Regions from separate parts of the Homo sapiens genome. Here regions 1, 2, 3 and 4 are each linked to region 5. Evidence: promoter capture Hi-C in 16 types of primary human blood cells and fetal thymus (Javierre and others, 2016). All regions are on one chromosome and are shown on one strand. The core of a region is centred on a gene start or on the middle of the fragment in contact, and the rest is flanking DNA. Distances in the headings are between cores, read along the strand shown. Region 1 overlaps MAN1C1 (mannosidase alpha class 1C member 1). Region 2 overlaps MAN1C1 (mannosidase alpha class 1C member 1). Region 3 has its middle 35 kb from the start of MAN1C1. Region 4 overlaps MAN1C1 (mannosidase alpha class 1C member 1). Region 5 holds the start of SELENON (selenoprotein N).

Region 1 (2,756 bases), core at 254-2,753, 170 kb before region 5:
ATTCCATGGCATATATATACCACATTTTCTTTATCCACTCGTTGGCCAATGGACACTTAGGTTGGTCCCATATCTTTGCAATTGTGAATTGTGCTGCAGTAAACATGCGTGTACATGTGTCTTTTTCATGTAATGGCTTCTTTTTCTTTGAGTAGATACCCAGTAGTGGGACTGCAGGATCGAATGGTAGATCTACTTATAGTTCTTAAAGGAATCTCCATACTGTTTTCCATAGAGGCTGTACTAATTTACATTCCTACCAGCAGTGTATGAGTGTTCCCTTTTCACCACATCAATGCCAATGTCTATTGTTTTTTGACTTTTTAGTAATGTCATTCTTGCAGGAGTAAGGTTGTGGTTTTAATTTGCATTGTGGTTTTAATTTGCATTTCCCTGATGATTAGTGATGTAGAGCATTTTTCATATGTTTCTTGGCCATTTGTGTATCTTTTTTGAGAAATGTCTATTCATGTCATTTGCCTACTTAATTAATTAATTTATTTTGAGACAGGGTCTCCCTCCGTCACTCAGGCTGGAGTGCAGTGGTGCGATCTTGGCTCACTGCAGCCTCCGCCTCCCAGGTTCAAGTGATTCTCCTACCTCGGGATCACAGGCATGTGTCACCATGCCTGGCTGATTTCTTGTATTTTTAGTAGAGACAGGGTTTCACCATATTGGTCAGGCTGGTCTCGAACTCCCTACCTCAGGTGATCTGCCCACCTCGGCCTCCCAAAGTGCTGGGATTACAGGTGTGAGCCACTGCACCCAGCCATTTGCCCACTTTTTAATTGATTTTTTTTTTTTCTGATTTGAGTTTCTTGTGGTTTTTAGACACTAGTTCTTTGTTGGATATATAGTATGCAAATATTTTCTCCCATTATGTGCATTGTCTTTTTACTCTGATGATTATTACTTTTGCTGTGCAGAAACTTTTTAGTTTAACGAGATCCCATTTATTGATCTATTTTTGTTTTTATTGCATTCGCTTTTGGGGTCTTAGTCATGAAGTCTTTGCCTAGGCCAATGTCCAGAAGAGTTTTTCTGATGTTATCTTTAGAATTCTTATGGTTTCAGGTCTTAGATTTAAGTCGTTGACTCATCCTGAGTTTTTTTTGTATAAGATGAGAGATAGGGATCCAGTTTCATTCCTCTATGTGTGGCTAGCCAGTTTTCCCAGCACCATTTATTAAATAGGGTGCCCTTTACCCTATTTAAAAAATAAATATTTTTATATGCTTCATCAAAGATCCGTTGGTTGTAAATATTTGGCTTTATCTATGGGTTCTCTATTCTTTTCCATGGGTCTATGTGCCTACTTTTATATCAGTACCATTCTGTTTTGGTAACTATAGCCTTGTGGTACAATTTGAAGTCTGGTAATGTGATACCTCTAGATTTGTTGTTTTTGCTTAGGTTTGCTTTGGCCATTCAGGCTCTTTTTAAAAATTTCATATTAATTTTAGGATTATTTTTTCTAATTCTGTGAACAATGATGTTGTTATTTTGTTTGGGATTGCATTGAATCTGTAGATTGCTTTGGGCAGTATGGTCATTTTCACAATACTGATTCTTCTAATCCATGAGCATGGGATGTGTTTCCATTTGTTTGTGTTATCTGTGATTTCTTCCAGCAGTGTCTTGTTGTTCTCCTTGTAGAGAAATTTCACCTCCTTAGTTAAGTATATTCCTAAGTTTTTTATTTTATTTTATTTTTGCAGCTGTTGTAAAAGGGATTGAGTTATTGACTTGATTCTTAGCTTGGTTGTTGTTGGTGTATAGCAGTGCTACTGATTTGTATATACTGATTTTGTAACCTGAGACTTTAATGAATTTATTTATCAAATCTAAGAGTCTTTTGGAGGAATCTTTAGGATTTTCTAGGTATACAGTCATATCATCTGTGAACAGTGATAGTCTGACTTCCTCTTTCCCAATTTGGATGTCCTTTATTCCTTTCTCTTGCCAGATTGCTCTGGCTAGGACTTCCAGTACTATGTTTTTGTTTGTTTGTTTGTTTGTTTGTTTTTGTTTTTGAGACAGAGTCTCGCTCTGTCGCCCAGGCTGGAGTCCAGTGGCACGATCTTGGCTCACTGAAACCCCCGCCTCCCGCATTTAAGTGATTCTTGTGCCTCAGCCTCCTGAGCAGCTGGGATTACAGGCATGTACCACCACGCCTGGTTAATTTTTTTTGTATTTTTAGAAGAGACGGGGTTTTGCCATGTTGCCCAGGCTGGTCTCAAACTCCTGAGCTTAGGCAGTCCACCCGCCTCAGCCTCCCAAAGTGCTAGGATTACAGGCATGAGCCACCGCACCCAGCCCAGTGCTATGTTTAATAGAAGTAGTGAAAGTCGGCATCCTTGTCTTGTTCCAGTTCTTAGAAGGGAATGCCTTAAACTTTTCCCCATTCGGTATGATGTTGGTTATGGGTTTGTCATATATGGCTTTTATTATTTTGAGATAAGTCCTTTCTATGCCTGGTTTGTTGAGAGTTTTTTTTATCATAAAAGGATGCTGGATCTTATTGAATGCTTTTTCTGCAACTATTGAGATGATCGTATGGTTTTTGTTTTTAATTCTGTTTATGTGATATATGACATTTATTGACTTGTATATGTTAGACCATCCCTGCATCCCTGCTATGAAACCCACTTGATCATGGTGTATTACATTTTTGATGTGCTGTTGGATTTTGTTAGCTTGTATTTTGCTGAGGATTTTTGCATCTGTATTCATCAGGGACATTGGTCTGTAGTTTT
Region 2 (2,755 bases), core at 129-2,628, 130 kb before region 5:
TCTGTTTACTGCTTTGGAATTCTCTCTCCTGGGGTGAACTGGTAACCTTATCAGTGGGTTTTACAAGCTTTTCTAGCCAAGAAAAGAAAATATGTACTTTGGAATCTCTTCTCATGGGGGCTTGGAGGAACAAAGAAAAGCCGAATGCATTTCTCAGGCTATAAATGGGAAACGAGGTGCATTTTTTTCAGATATTTATTAAGTTCTCAGCTCAGCTGTCATCTGGGAGGCCTTCCTTGGCCACCCCACCCACTCAGTTATCCCCCACCCCCTTACCTTGCTTGACTTTCCTTCACGGTGCTTGTCACCATTCAGAATTCTCCTGCTGGCTGCTGGCTGCCTCCCCACACTAGGATGTAGAGGCCATGAAGGCAGCCGCCATTCCTATCTTGTTTACTCCCATATGTACTAGAACATGGGGTACATAGTAGATGCTCAGTAAATATTTTCTGAATGGATGTCAGGTGGGGAGAGGTAGAGAAAAGAACGGTTAACATGCAGAGATTGGAATCGGACAGACCTGGGTTTGAATCCAAGCCTTCTACTTTTCTTTCTTTCTTTTTTTTTTTTTTGAGACGGAGTCTTGCTCAGTCACCCAGGCTGGAGTGCAGTGGCACGATCTCGGCTCACTGCAACCTCCGCCTCCTGGGTTCACGTCATTCTCCTGCCTCAGCCTCCCGAGTAGCTGGGACTACAGACGCCCGCCATGATGCCCAGCTAATTTTTTTTTGTATTTTTAGTAGAGACGGGGTTTCACCATGTTAGCCAGGATGGTCTCCATCTCCTGACCTCGTGATCCACCCGCCTCGGCCTCCCAAAGTGCTGGGATTACAGGCGTGAGCCACCGCACCCTGCCCAAGCCTTCTACTTTTCAGCTGCTGTGCTCAGAATTGAGAAAACCTGATGGTTTCCTCCTTTATACAAAGCATACAGCCATCAGCGACAGAAATCTCAGCTAGGCCTTTCTTTTATGGGGAGAAACTGAAAGGGCCTGTCTCTGAAATTTTGAAAGAGTCCGGGTGAGCCACCATCACCCATAGTTGTACCTCAAAAGCAAGTGCAGGGAAGAGAGGAATTTTGTGAAGATTTTGAAACACCTGTCATGGGCCGTGGGTTCATTTGTGCCCTGCGTATGGCAAGGTCTGTTTTGCCCACTGACGGGAGCTGCCGTTTCCTGTAGCTGGTTTACAGGCCCCAGCAGGAAGTCCCAGATCTGGAGGCAGCATAGGAATGAGAAAATTCTGGTCTCTTGTTAGAAATCAGAGCAGCAGACCTAGAGAAGGTGTATTCAGTTCTTGGGCACACAGTTAGCTGTGTGTCCTTGGAATTGTTACTGAACCGCTCTGAACCTCAGTTTTCTTATCTATAAAATGGGCTCAATACTTGCTTCTGGGAGTAGCAATGGAAGATTAAATGAGATAAAATATGTGATCACATCTGGCAAAAGGGCTGGTACATGGAGGTGCTCAATAAATACTGGCACCATCGGGCACACTGGCTTGTGCTTTTAACCATAGCACTTTGGGAGGTCGAGGCAGGAGGATCACTTGAAGCCAAGAGTTCAAGACCAGCTTGGGCAACGTATCGAGACCCTATCTTTTTTAAAAAAAAATTGTAAAAATCAGCCAAGTGTGGTGGCACACACCTGCTACTTGGAAGTCCCAGCTACTAGGGAGGCTGAGGTGAGAGGATCACTTAAGCCTAGGAGTTTGAGGCTGCAGTGAGCTACTATCATACCACTGTACTGCACTCCTGTCTGGATGACAGAGCAAGACTCTGTCTCTAAAAATACACAGATACAAATAAATACTGGCTTATTCTCCAGTTCTTAACTGAAATCCTTTCACAGGACAAGAAACAAGGCCCTTTACTACCCATGAATGTTGGTAGTTCTCAGGCCCCCTTCTTGAGTCCAGGAAAGGAATCTGTCAGGAGAATGTTGCTGATCCTCTTTCGGTTCCAAGAACTACCAGAAAATGTAGAACTACCAGAAAATGTAGATGGTTTCACATGATTCTAAATGGATTTCCAAAGCAGTCTATGCCCACAGCTGGTTTCTCCAGAAATGACAACACTGCCTGGAAAACAAGACTCCTGCCCTCCTGGAGCCTTTGTTCTTGTGCTTGGCCCAGGGCCTCCCTGTAAGCCCCAAAGGCTCTGAAACCCATCACCCAAATCCCCTTGTGGATGCAGAGACGCCACTAAGCAGTCTTTAGATGGAGATTATCAAGGCTGAACTTCCAGATTTCAAATAGTATCACCTCCCTGGGAAACCAGCACTTGGAGATTCCTGCGTTCCATGTGCCTTGCAGGATCTCTCTGCCACTTGCATTGGTATTTTCTTTGTTTTCACTTAAACCTGTTTCTTTAAAAAAAAATTGTTAAAGTTTGGGTAAAAGAACTGGTTCCGCCTCTTTCATGTTTCCAAAGGCTCCAGGCTCTGCTGGGGCAGCTTTAAAGCAGGTCATCCATTCCTTCTAGCAGACTGAGCCTTCAGGGGGTGGGAATTTGGACATTTCTCATTTTCAAAGAGAAGCAGACATAAGGATGGGCCACTTGAGCCAGGCACAGGGCAGCAGCCGGCCTTCGTTTGATGCTGTGTGTGCCACATGCTGTCCAGAGGTGCTGGGTCTATGTCGTGTTGGTTCATTCATTAGACAGTAGAGCAGCCTGGTGAGATGGAAGAGACAAAGCTTTCTGAATCAGCCAGACCCCAGCTTCAAACACTGGCTCTGCCACCTGCCAGCTACAGAGC
Region 3 (2,700 bases), core at 133-2,632, 220 kb before region 5:
CTGCCTTGGCCTTCCAAAGTGCTGGATTACAGGTGTGAGCCACTGCACCTGGCCCACAATTATCTTTCAAGAGGTGTTGCTTTTATCAACCCCATTTTATAGATGGGGACCAGGCTCTGAGTTTCTTCATCAGTAGTAACCCCAGGCTTTGGGGTACTGTGAGAACCCGGCAGGACACCATGAATCCCGGAAGGCTCAGAACCAGGCTCTGGAGGAGTTTCCCTAAATTGAGGCCAGCCTTAGTCTGTTGGCCTTAGCAAAAGCAGGAAGGGCCTGTCTAGACTGAGTACTTCCTAATTCTAGATGTTACTGCCATTGGCCTGCTTGGGGGCCGGTCCTGGACCAAGAGGGTGCCGTGCTGGGCTGGAGAGCTTCTCACCAAAAGCAAATGGGGTGTGAGGAACATGTGTTCTCTGCCGGGCCTCAGCACATGGGCATTCTGTCGTGATGCTTGCTGTAGCCAGCAGCCTGGGGCGGGGGCACTGCTGAGTAAACTAGGAGGGCAGCTGAATTCTGAGAAGCAGAGAGGTAGGTATGGGCCCCTGGCCTCTTGAGCCAGGGAGAGGAGAGGGTTTCTGAAAAAGAGAGATACCAAACAGGGCCCAAGCACTGACACAGGAGACTCCTGTGATGGTTCAGGTCTCCCCCATCAGACCAGGAGTTGCTGAATCCGGGGTGGTCTGTTTCCCTCTTCAGGCTGGAAGCTCTGAAGGGCAGAACTCTCGCTCCTCTGACACATCGGGAGCTCCTGTGTGCAGGGCCCTGTCTCCCACCTTGGGCTGAGGCTTCTAACGGCAGGGCGTCTCTTCCCTCCAACTAGGGCACCTGAAGGGCTAAGTGTTCCAAGACAGCAGTGTCAGCAAAGGCTGCGCAGATTTGAGGAGTGGGACCGGCAGAGCTGGATGAAACCTGACTATGCTGAAGGGGAAATGGAGACCCCGGGAGGGGCAGGGACCTGCTGAGTGCCTCCCCCAGGCAGTAGCTGACCTGGACCGCATCCCGGTACTCCTGCTGAGGTAGGAGGATTTGGGGTAAAGAGACAAAGTGTGGCCTTAGGAATACAGCCCCCAGAGCCAGGCAGGAGGGGGCAGCCCCGTAGGGCTCAGGTTCAAGCATGAGGCTGCCAATACTGCCCCTTGGAAGCGCCTCTGTTGTTCTGTCCTGGATGTTTGAGTCCTTGGCCAGCTTCCTGGGCAACGGCCTCATCCCGCTGAGATGGACAGATGTGCACAGCTGGGGGAGGGGCTTGGTGAAATCCAGCCCCACCCAGCGCAGGCCTGGGCTTCCCAGGGGTGGAACTTATCTGGGTTCTGGTCCTGATCTCTGCCTTGGCCCTGTTGTGCAGCCCTGGGCAGTGCCATGGCTTCCCCTTGGGCCTCAGTTTTCTTGTCTCTCAAATAAGGGAAGCTCTTCATTCTTTCATCAGACATTGACTGAGTTGGTACGTCCTTGGCCCACTGACTCCAATATTTGGGGATGCATTATCTGGTTCTAAGATACTTCCCCCGCTCTATTTTAAAATTTATTTCAAAAAATTATGGTAGAATGGTCTGGGCGTGGTGGCTCACGCCTGTAATCCCAGCACTTTGGGAGGCCAAGGCGGGCAGATCACTAGATATGGAGATCGAGACCATCCTGGCGAACACGGTGAAACCCCGTCTCTACTAAAAATACAAAACTTAGCTGGGCATGGTGGCATGCACCTGTAGTCCCAGCTACTCAGGAGGCTGAGGCAGGAGAATCGCTTGAACCTGGGAGGTGGAGGTTGCAGTGATCCGAGATCGTGCCACTGCACTCCAGCCTGGCGACAGAGCGAGACCCCATCTCAAAAAAAAAAAAAAAATTACCATTTTGACTTTTTAAAGTATACAGTTCAATGGCATTACATACACTGACATTGTTGTACAGCCTTCCCCACTGTCTATCTCCAGAACTTTTTCATCACCTTAGACTTGAATCCCCATCCTTTTAAAAATAACAGCTTTATTGTGATATAATTCACATATCATACAACTCATTTAAAGTATACAATGAGCCGGGTACGGTGGCTCACATCTGTAATCCCAGCACTTTGGGAGGCCGAGGTGGGCGGATTACCTGAGGTTAGAAGTTCGAGACCAGCCTGGGCAACATGGTGAAACCCCGTCTCTACTAAAAATACTAAAATTAGCTAGGCGTGGTGACGCAGGCCTGTAGTCCCAGCTACTTGGGATGCTGAGGCAGGAGAATCACTTGAACCCGGGAGGCAGAGCTTACAGTGAGCCGAGATCGTGCCACTGCACTCCAGCTTGGGGGACAGAGTGAGACTATCTCAAAAAAAAAAACAAAAATTCCATTCCACTCTCTTTTTGTTTGCATGGTTTCTGAGAAGTTGGATATAATTATCTTTGCTCCTCTGTAGGTGAGGTGTTTTTTTTCCTTTGGCTTTTTTGGGGATTTTTTTTTTTTTTTTTGGTGGAGTCTCACTCTGTTGCCCAGGCTGGAGTGCAGTGGAGCCATCTCAGCTCACTGTAACCTCCATCTCCCAGGTTCAAGTGATTCTCGTGCCTCAGCCTCCCGAATAGCTGGGATTACAGGAGCCTGCCACCATGCCTGGCTAATTTTTTATACTTTTTTAGTAGAGATGGGGTTTCGCCATGTTGGCCAGGCTGGTCTCGAACTTCTGACCTCAAGTGATCTGCCCACTTCAGCCTCCCAAAG
Region 4 (2,700 bases), core at 129-2,628, 150 kb before region 5:
GTAAACTCTACTTGAGGGCATAATTCAATTATGAAAATCTATTTCTCTTACACATTCAAAAAATCTCCTCATGTGCCTTTGTGCACACACAAATTTAGTGAGACATCACCAAATGTGTATGTGGTTGCCATGGAAATGTCTTCTAACGTGGCATTCCAAGAGCAAAGAGAAGGGAAGTTTTCTTTGAAAAGAAAAGCAGAGCAGAACTTGGCTAATAGTCATCACACTAATCCCCAAACTGTCATTCTTCCCTGACTACCTGTCTTCTACTTCCTGTCAGCAACTGAACAGGGGAAGGCAAATCAGTGTGCAGGACTGGGTCTCTCACATTTCCTTAGGAATTTCACAAGCATTGTTCTTAACACTTATGTCAAGCACGTACCAGGAAGGACACCAGGTCTTCTTGATTTGAGTTTGCACCTAGAAGCTTAGAAGGTACCTTCCTGGACTGTCTAGCACTTGCCACGCATGAGTACTCAGAAGAACTCCTGGCACCATTTCTCTGTGGCAAGTGCAGGCTGAATAGGGCTTCTGAAGAGGCTTTGTGTTTCCCACCAGAGCTTTTGTCTTTGTGACAAGGGCATGATGTGACAGCATATAGAGCATGCCAATACGAAGTCACTTTTTGAGTGTCGGAAATCCCAAATGTTTCTTAGTGGTGGTGTGAGTCCACAGTGTGGGACCTAAGGCTGGTTGGATGCCTCTGGTCTTCCCGGCTCAGGCTCAGGTTGATCCTCACCCTCACTCTTGTTTTCACTTGTCCTCTTGACTTTCTTAACTGAGCCTTTCTGTGGGCAATGAGGTCCTCATATTTCTGGACTTTACCAGCAGTCTCTGAGGGGATCCTTTGTCCATATTAGCGGACCCTTTGACTGGGTCACTGGGCTGCCTTTCCCCAGTTTTGGGGCTGGGTAGCAGTCCTTTTTCTTTTTTGGAGATAGGGTCTCACTCTGTCGCCCAGGCTGGAGTACAGTGGCGCAATCTCAGTTCCCTGCAACCTGCCCCTCCCGGGTTCAAGCAATTCCCCTGCCTCAGCTTCTCGAGTAGCTGGGATTACAGGTGTGTGCCACCATGCCTGGCTAATTTTTGTATTTTTAATAGAGACAGGGTTTCACCATGTTGGCTAGGCTGGTCTGGAACTCCTGGCCTCAAGTGATCCGTCTGTCTCAGCCTCCCAAAAGTGCTGGGATACAGGAGTGAGCCACCGTGCCCGGCCTGGCCTTGTTGCTTTTAGTATTGAAAACTCTAGGATGCTCCATCTTGTCTGTGGTTGTACTGGCTCCCGAGAAGACCTTTAGCCACTGGCCTGGCTGAGTTGCCAAAGTTGGGGGAGGGGGCAGTGCACAGACCCAGTTTCTGACACTCAAAGCAGGGGCTATAAATTCTGTACACTCCCATGTCCACAGCTCTGCACCACTGACTGGGGCGTGTGGGTCTCCACTTACTGTGGGTCAAGCAGCAGGTCATTTCTGCCAAAAGACAATGTCCTTCTTGCTTTTATAAATCAGGTCCTTAACATTGTTTCTTACCCAGTGTTTATTTCTCTGGCTCTAAAGGGATTAATCGAGGCATCTGGCTCATGGCTGGGCTGTGACCTTAATGAATGTGTGTAAATTTGACCAAGAGCTGAGGAAATCGTACCAGCAACTCCGTAGGGGTTCAGAGCCTTTTATTACCAAATACAGTGTCCAGTGTTTGCTCTTCTGAGGCTGCTGCAGGTGGCCACTGCTCCAGTCTACTTCCACGTAACTCTTGCTTCTGAGGTTGTTCTGAGGTTATTTGGGGTCCTGTTTGGGGAGCTCACGACCCCCCGCAGAGAGAGCAGGTCCAGGTATGGCCTGCTTGACTCTGTGGCCTCTCCATGGCCTAACCAAATCTCTCCAGCAAGGGACAGGGCTTTTAACAATAGTAAATTCTCTTTGGGATAATAGAGAACTTGCTTTGACATAGTGTGTTCTCATTCTTTCTTTCTGCTGTTTTAGACACCGATAAATCTACCAAACTTGGATGTATAAATGGCTATTAGGAGAGCTGGCTGCCCACTTTCACTCTTGGCTTGTGCAAGTAAATATCAATTTAGTCCTTACAGAAGGAGAATAAAGGAGACTTGGTTGTCTCCCTAATCCACAAACCCTGTAATTCTCACCTGGAAAATCTAGCTCTCCTATTTCAAATCAGTTTTAATAGCAAAGGCTAAAGGGAGGCTTTATTGCTCTTATCCAGGCTTATTTTTAAACTTTTTTTTTTACTTATTCATTCAGTAAGTAAGAACTCCTCCAAGGAGACCTGGAGGGGGTTGGCTTAGGAGAAGGGGAGAAGGTGAGTAAGTGGAAGCTTGGTAGGAGAGATTGCCACTGGGTGAACACTCACAATAGGGGCCGCTCACCAACTGAACAGGTGTTCTGGAAATCAGCAGATCCTGAGGACCCGGGACGGCTACTGCAATTCTAGAGCACCAGTGGGGAATCCTCTGCCACACTTTCTTCTGTCCCAGAGGAGAAGCGGGCAGACTGGCCCTGGTTGGAGACTCCTGACAGTGACCAGCCTCAGCTGGCCAGAAAGACAGACTTCCCTGAGTGACAGGCAGGAAGGCCCTGGTTGGTCCCGGCCTGCACTGGCCTTGCACGGCTCTTCAGCTGGCCTGTAAGCCTCTCCTGAGCTCACTGCCTTGTTGCTGGCGCCTGGGCTGCTCATTGCCCT
Region 5 (2,700 bases), core at 122-2,621:
GGCTCTGGGAAGGCCTCACCTGGTGCTGCCATGGCTGGCCACCAAAGAAGAACAGGATGGGCAGTGGAGGCAGGACCCCACCCCCAACTCAGTCGACCGGGTCATCCCGTGGGAAGCCTGGGAGGCAGGATGGCAGGAGATTTGGACCCATAGACCTGGGTGCCAGAGGTCAGGCTTCTTCATTTGAAAACCAGGGAAGCAGTCTCTACCTCACAAGGTGGCTTGAGAACAGAGTGAGAGAATGTGTAAATCACCCCACCTGAAGTCCAGCACATGGGCAGAGCTCAGCATCCTTTGGATCCCTCAGGCCTGACAGGTGCCCCTGCGCTGGGGGGGTTGGTGGGGCTCTGCAAAGGCAGGCACTGCTCACCTCTGGGCTCAGAATTCTTGTCTAGAGGCTTCTGCAGCTGCCACCCTCGCCTGAGAAAATGCAGGTAGAGACATCTAGAGCCACCCCATGGTAACTGGGGGCTTTGAAAGAATGGAAGAGAGCCCCAAGGAACCAAGGTCCTGGGGATTGACAGGCATGAAAATATGTCCTCAACACCACCCACCCCTATTTCCAAGGCCCTCCTCCAAGCATGCCGCATGCTGTTCTCCAGAAAAGCCAGGGCCTCTGGTAGCTCCAGCTGCTGAGGGGCTGGAGCCTCGCCTTCCCCTCACCAGACCAGAGCCCGGAGGGTGGGGGTTGGGGGGCTCTTTTAACTCCTTGGTGGAGATGAGGAAATTTGGGCCCAGGGAAGTGCAGGTTCAGAGCTGCACCTGCTGTGCCTGGAACAAGGCCAATCCCCATAACCCATGCATCTGCGGAGGTGGCCCCCCAACTGCACATGAGGGGAACAGGGGCTGGGCTTTCTTTTTAATTTGTCTTGCTCTAGATGACAGAGGAACTTTTAGAAAACTGGTGGGATAAGGATGGACGGATGCCCCTCAGCAGTCTCTGGCCTCGTGCCCGGCTGCCAGCAGAGGAGGACACGAGGCCTCAGAGGCCCCCGACGCCCCTTCTCCAGGAAAGCACAGGGTGTGTGGCTTCTCCCCAGCCCCTTCTTTGTCCCAGTCCCCAGTCTGGAATCGCTCTCTGGGCTGGGCCAGGCAAGTGGGCCGCAGAGGCCTGGCTTAGCTTTGGGAACGGAAGCACGGGAAGGGGCGCGGAGAGGCAGGAAGCGGCCTGGGGAGGCTGGGGTGGCCGGGACTACGGACCCGACCGCATAGACGCGATCAGCCCCTCTTGGCGTTCCGGTGTAGCTGACCCCGCCCCGGGCTCTGGCCGGGCTGCGAAGCCGGGAACCAGCGACCCCCCGCCCAGCCCCTGCGGCCGCCCCGCCCCTCCCCGCCCCGGCCGCCCCGCCCCCGGCCCCGCCCCGCTCTTTCGCTTCCCGGGCCGCCGGCAGCCGCCGCCAGCCGCAGCCATGGGCCGGGCCCGGCCGGGCCAACGCGGGCCGCCCAGCCCCGGCCCCGCCGCGCAGCCTCCCGCGCCACCGCGCCGCCGCGCCCGTTCCCTGGCGCTGCTCGGAGCCCTGCTGGCCGCCGCCGCTGCCGCCGCCGTCCGGGTCTGCGCCCGCCACGCCGAGGCCCAGGCGGCCGCGCGGCAGGTCCGGGCCCGAGCTGGCTGGGGCGGGAGCGCGGGAGCGGGGACTGAAGGACCCAGCCTCGGCAGCAGGGGGGACATGGGCATGGACGAGTCGGGGGAGGCGGAGGGCGGAGGGGGACTGGACGGGAGGGAGCACGGGAAGGAGGGGACACGGGAGGCGGGTGGGGGGTGCCTGGGGCCGGGCTGATGGGGGGAAGGCGAACGGAGGCCAGTGTGGGGCTGGGACAGACTGGAGGGGTCTCTATCCAGAGGGGTGACCTGGACACAGTGAAGCTGGTTCCCGCAGAGTCTTAAAGGGTTACTGGGGAGCCCTGGGACAGTGAGGAGGGGACACAGGAGAGGACAGAAGGTGCAGGAGGAACAGGGCCAAGCAGCCAGGGCCAGGCGGAAGGCGGAGTGGGGACAAACTGGGAGGGGGCAGTCGGACCAGACAGTGGATGAGCAGGGACCAGGAGGGACTGGAGGCTCTGGGGCAGTTCAGAGGCAACATTTGCACAGATGGACCGGGAGGCACTGGGAGAGCTCAGGAAGATGGTGGGAGAAGGGGCTCCATGCGGAAGCAACTGCCTGTTGGGGACCAGGAGACCAGGCCGCCAAATGGTGCCCAGCCCAGTCTCTCCTCCCAAGCAGGAACTGGCGCTGAAGACCCTGGGGACAGATGGCCTTTTTCTCTTTTCCTCCTTGGACACTGACGGGGATATGTACATCAGCCCTGAGGAGTTCAAACCCATTGCTGAGAAGCTAACAGGTACCAGGAGAGACTGGCGGCTGGGGAGGAGGGCGCCTTGGCCAACGGTGTCTTCACTGAGCAGGAGCGGCCGTCTGGAGTGGAGGGAAGCTCGTGGGATCTCAGAGGCCCTGGACTCCTCCCAGCTCTGACACTTTGTAGCTGGTGGCTTGGGCGAGCTGCTCCAGCAACCCCTGAGCCTGTTTTTCTCAGACTTGTGAGCAATAATACCAGCTAACATTCTTTGGTCTGCGAGGTAGCTCACGCCTGTAATCCCAACACTTTGGGAGATGGAAGGATCGCTTGAGCCCAGGAGTTCAAGACCAGCCTGGTCAACATGGCAAAACCCCATCCCTACAAAAATACAAAAATTAGCCGGGTG

The links. Contacts are between HindIII fragments. The CHiCAGO score rates a contact against its expected background, and 5 or more counts as called.
Region 1: a contact is called between a fragment that was not itself captured here and the fragment with the promoter of SELENON in region 5, in 8 of 17 cell types (non-activated CD4 T cells, naive CD4 T cells, activated CD4 T cells and 5 more). The highest score is 13.3, in non-activated CD4 T cells.
Region 2: a fragment that was not itself captured here is called in contact with the fragment with the promoter of SELENON in region 5 in 4 of 17 cell types (naive CD4 T cells, non-activated CD4 T cells, activated CD4 T cells and 1 more); the score reaches 8.2 in naive CD4 T cells.
Region 3: a contact is called between a fragment that was not itself captured here and the fragment with the promoter of SELENON in region 5, in 13 of 17 cell types (naive CD4 T cells, naive CD8 T cells, activated CD4 T cells and 10 more). The highest score is 15.0, in naive CD4 T cells.
Region 4: a fragment that was not itself captured here is called in contact with the fragment with the promoter of SELENON in region 5 in 6 of 17 cell types (non-activated CD4 T cells, naive CD4 T cells, total CD4 T cells and 3 more); the score reaches 9.2 in non-activated CD4 T cells.

Annotation. Positions count from the first base shown.
Region 1 is chr1:25,628,950-25,631,705 of GRCh38, forward strand. All of the region lies in intron 1 of MAN1C1 (mannosidase alpha class 1C member 1), which reads left to right. Among named protein-coding and RNA genes, the nearest start is that of MAN1C1, 14 kb to the left of the region's middle. The HindIII fragment of the contact is 6,918 bases long and covers 1-2,756 here.
Region 2 is chr1:25,668,002-25,670,756 of GRCh38, forward strand. All of the region lies in intron 1 of MAN1C1 (mannosidase alpha class 1C member 1), which reads left to right. Among named protein-coding and RNA genes, the nearest start is that of MAN1C1, 53 kb to the left of the region's middle. The HindIII fragment of the contact is 2,626 bases long and covers 66-2,691 here.
Region 3 is chr1:25,580,757-25,583,456 of GRCh38, forward strand. It overlaps a transcript of LDLRAP1 not described here. Among named protein-coding and RNA genes, the nearest start is that of MAN1C1, 35 kb to the right of the region's middle. RefSeq lists an enhancer at 794-1,642. The HindIII fragment of the contact is 5,056 bases long and covers 1-2,700 here.
Region 4 is chr1:25,648,722-25,651,421 of GRCh38, forward strand. All of the region lies in intron 1 of MAN1C1 (mannosidase alpha class 1C member 1), which reads left to right. Among named protein-coding and RNA genes, the nearest start is that of MAN1C1, 33 kb to the left of the region's middle. The HindIII fragment of the contact is 1,907 bases long and covers 426-2,332 here.
Region 5 is chr1:25,798,822-25,801,521 of GRCh38, forward strand. SELENON (selenoprotein N) reads left to right here and starts at 1,372. Exons shown (of 12, transcript NM_206926.2): 1 at 1,372-1,592; 2 at 2,222-2,339. The coding sequence starts at 1,410. RefSeq lists an enhancer at 566-1,287 and a silencer at 1,097-1,236. The HindIII fragment of the contact is 6,547 bases long and covers 1-2,700 here.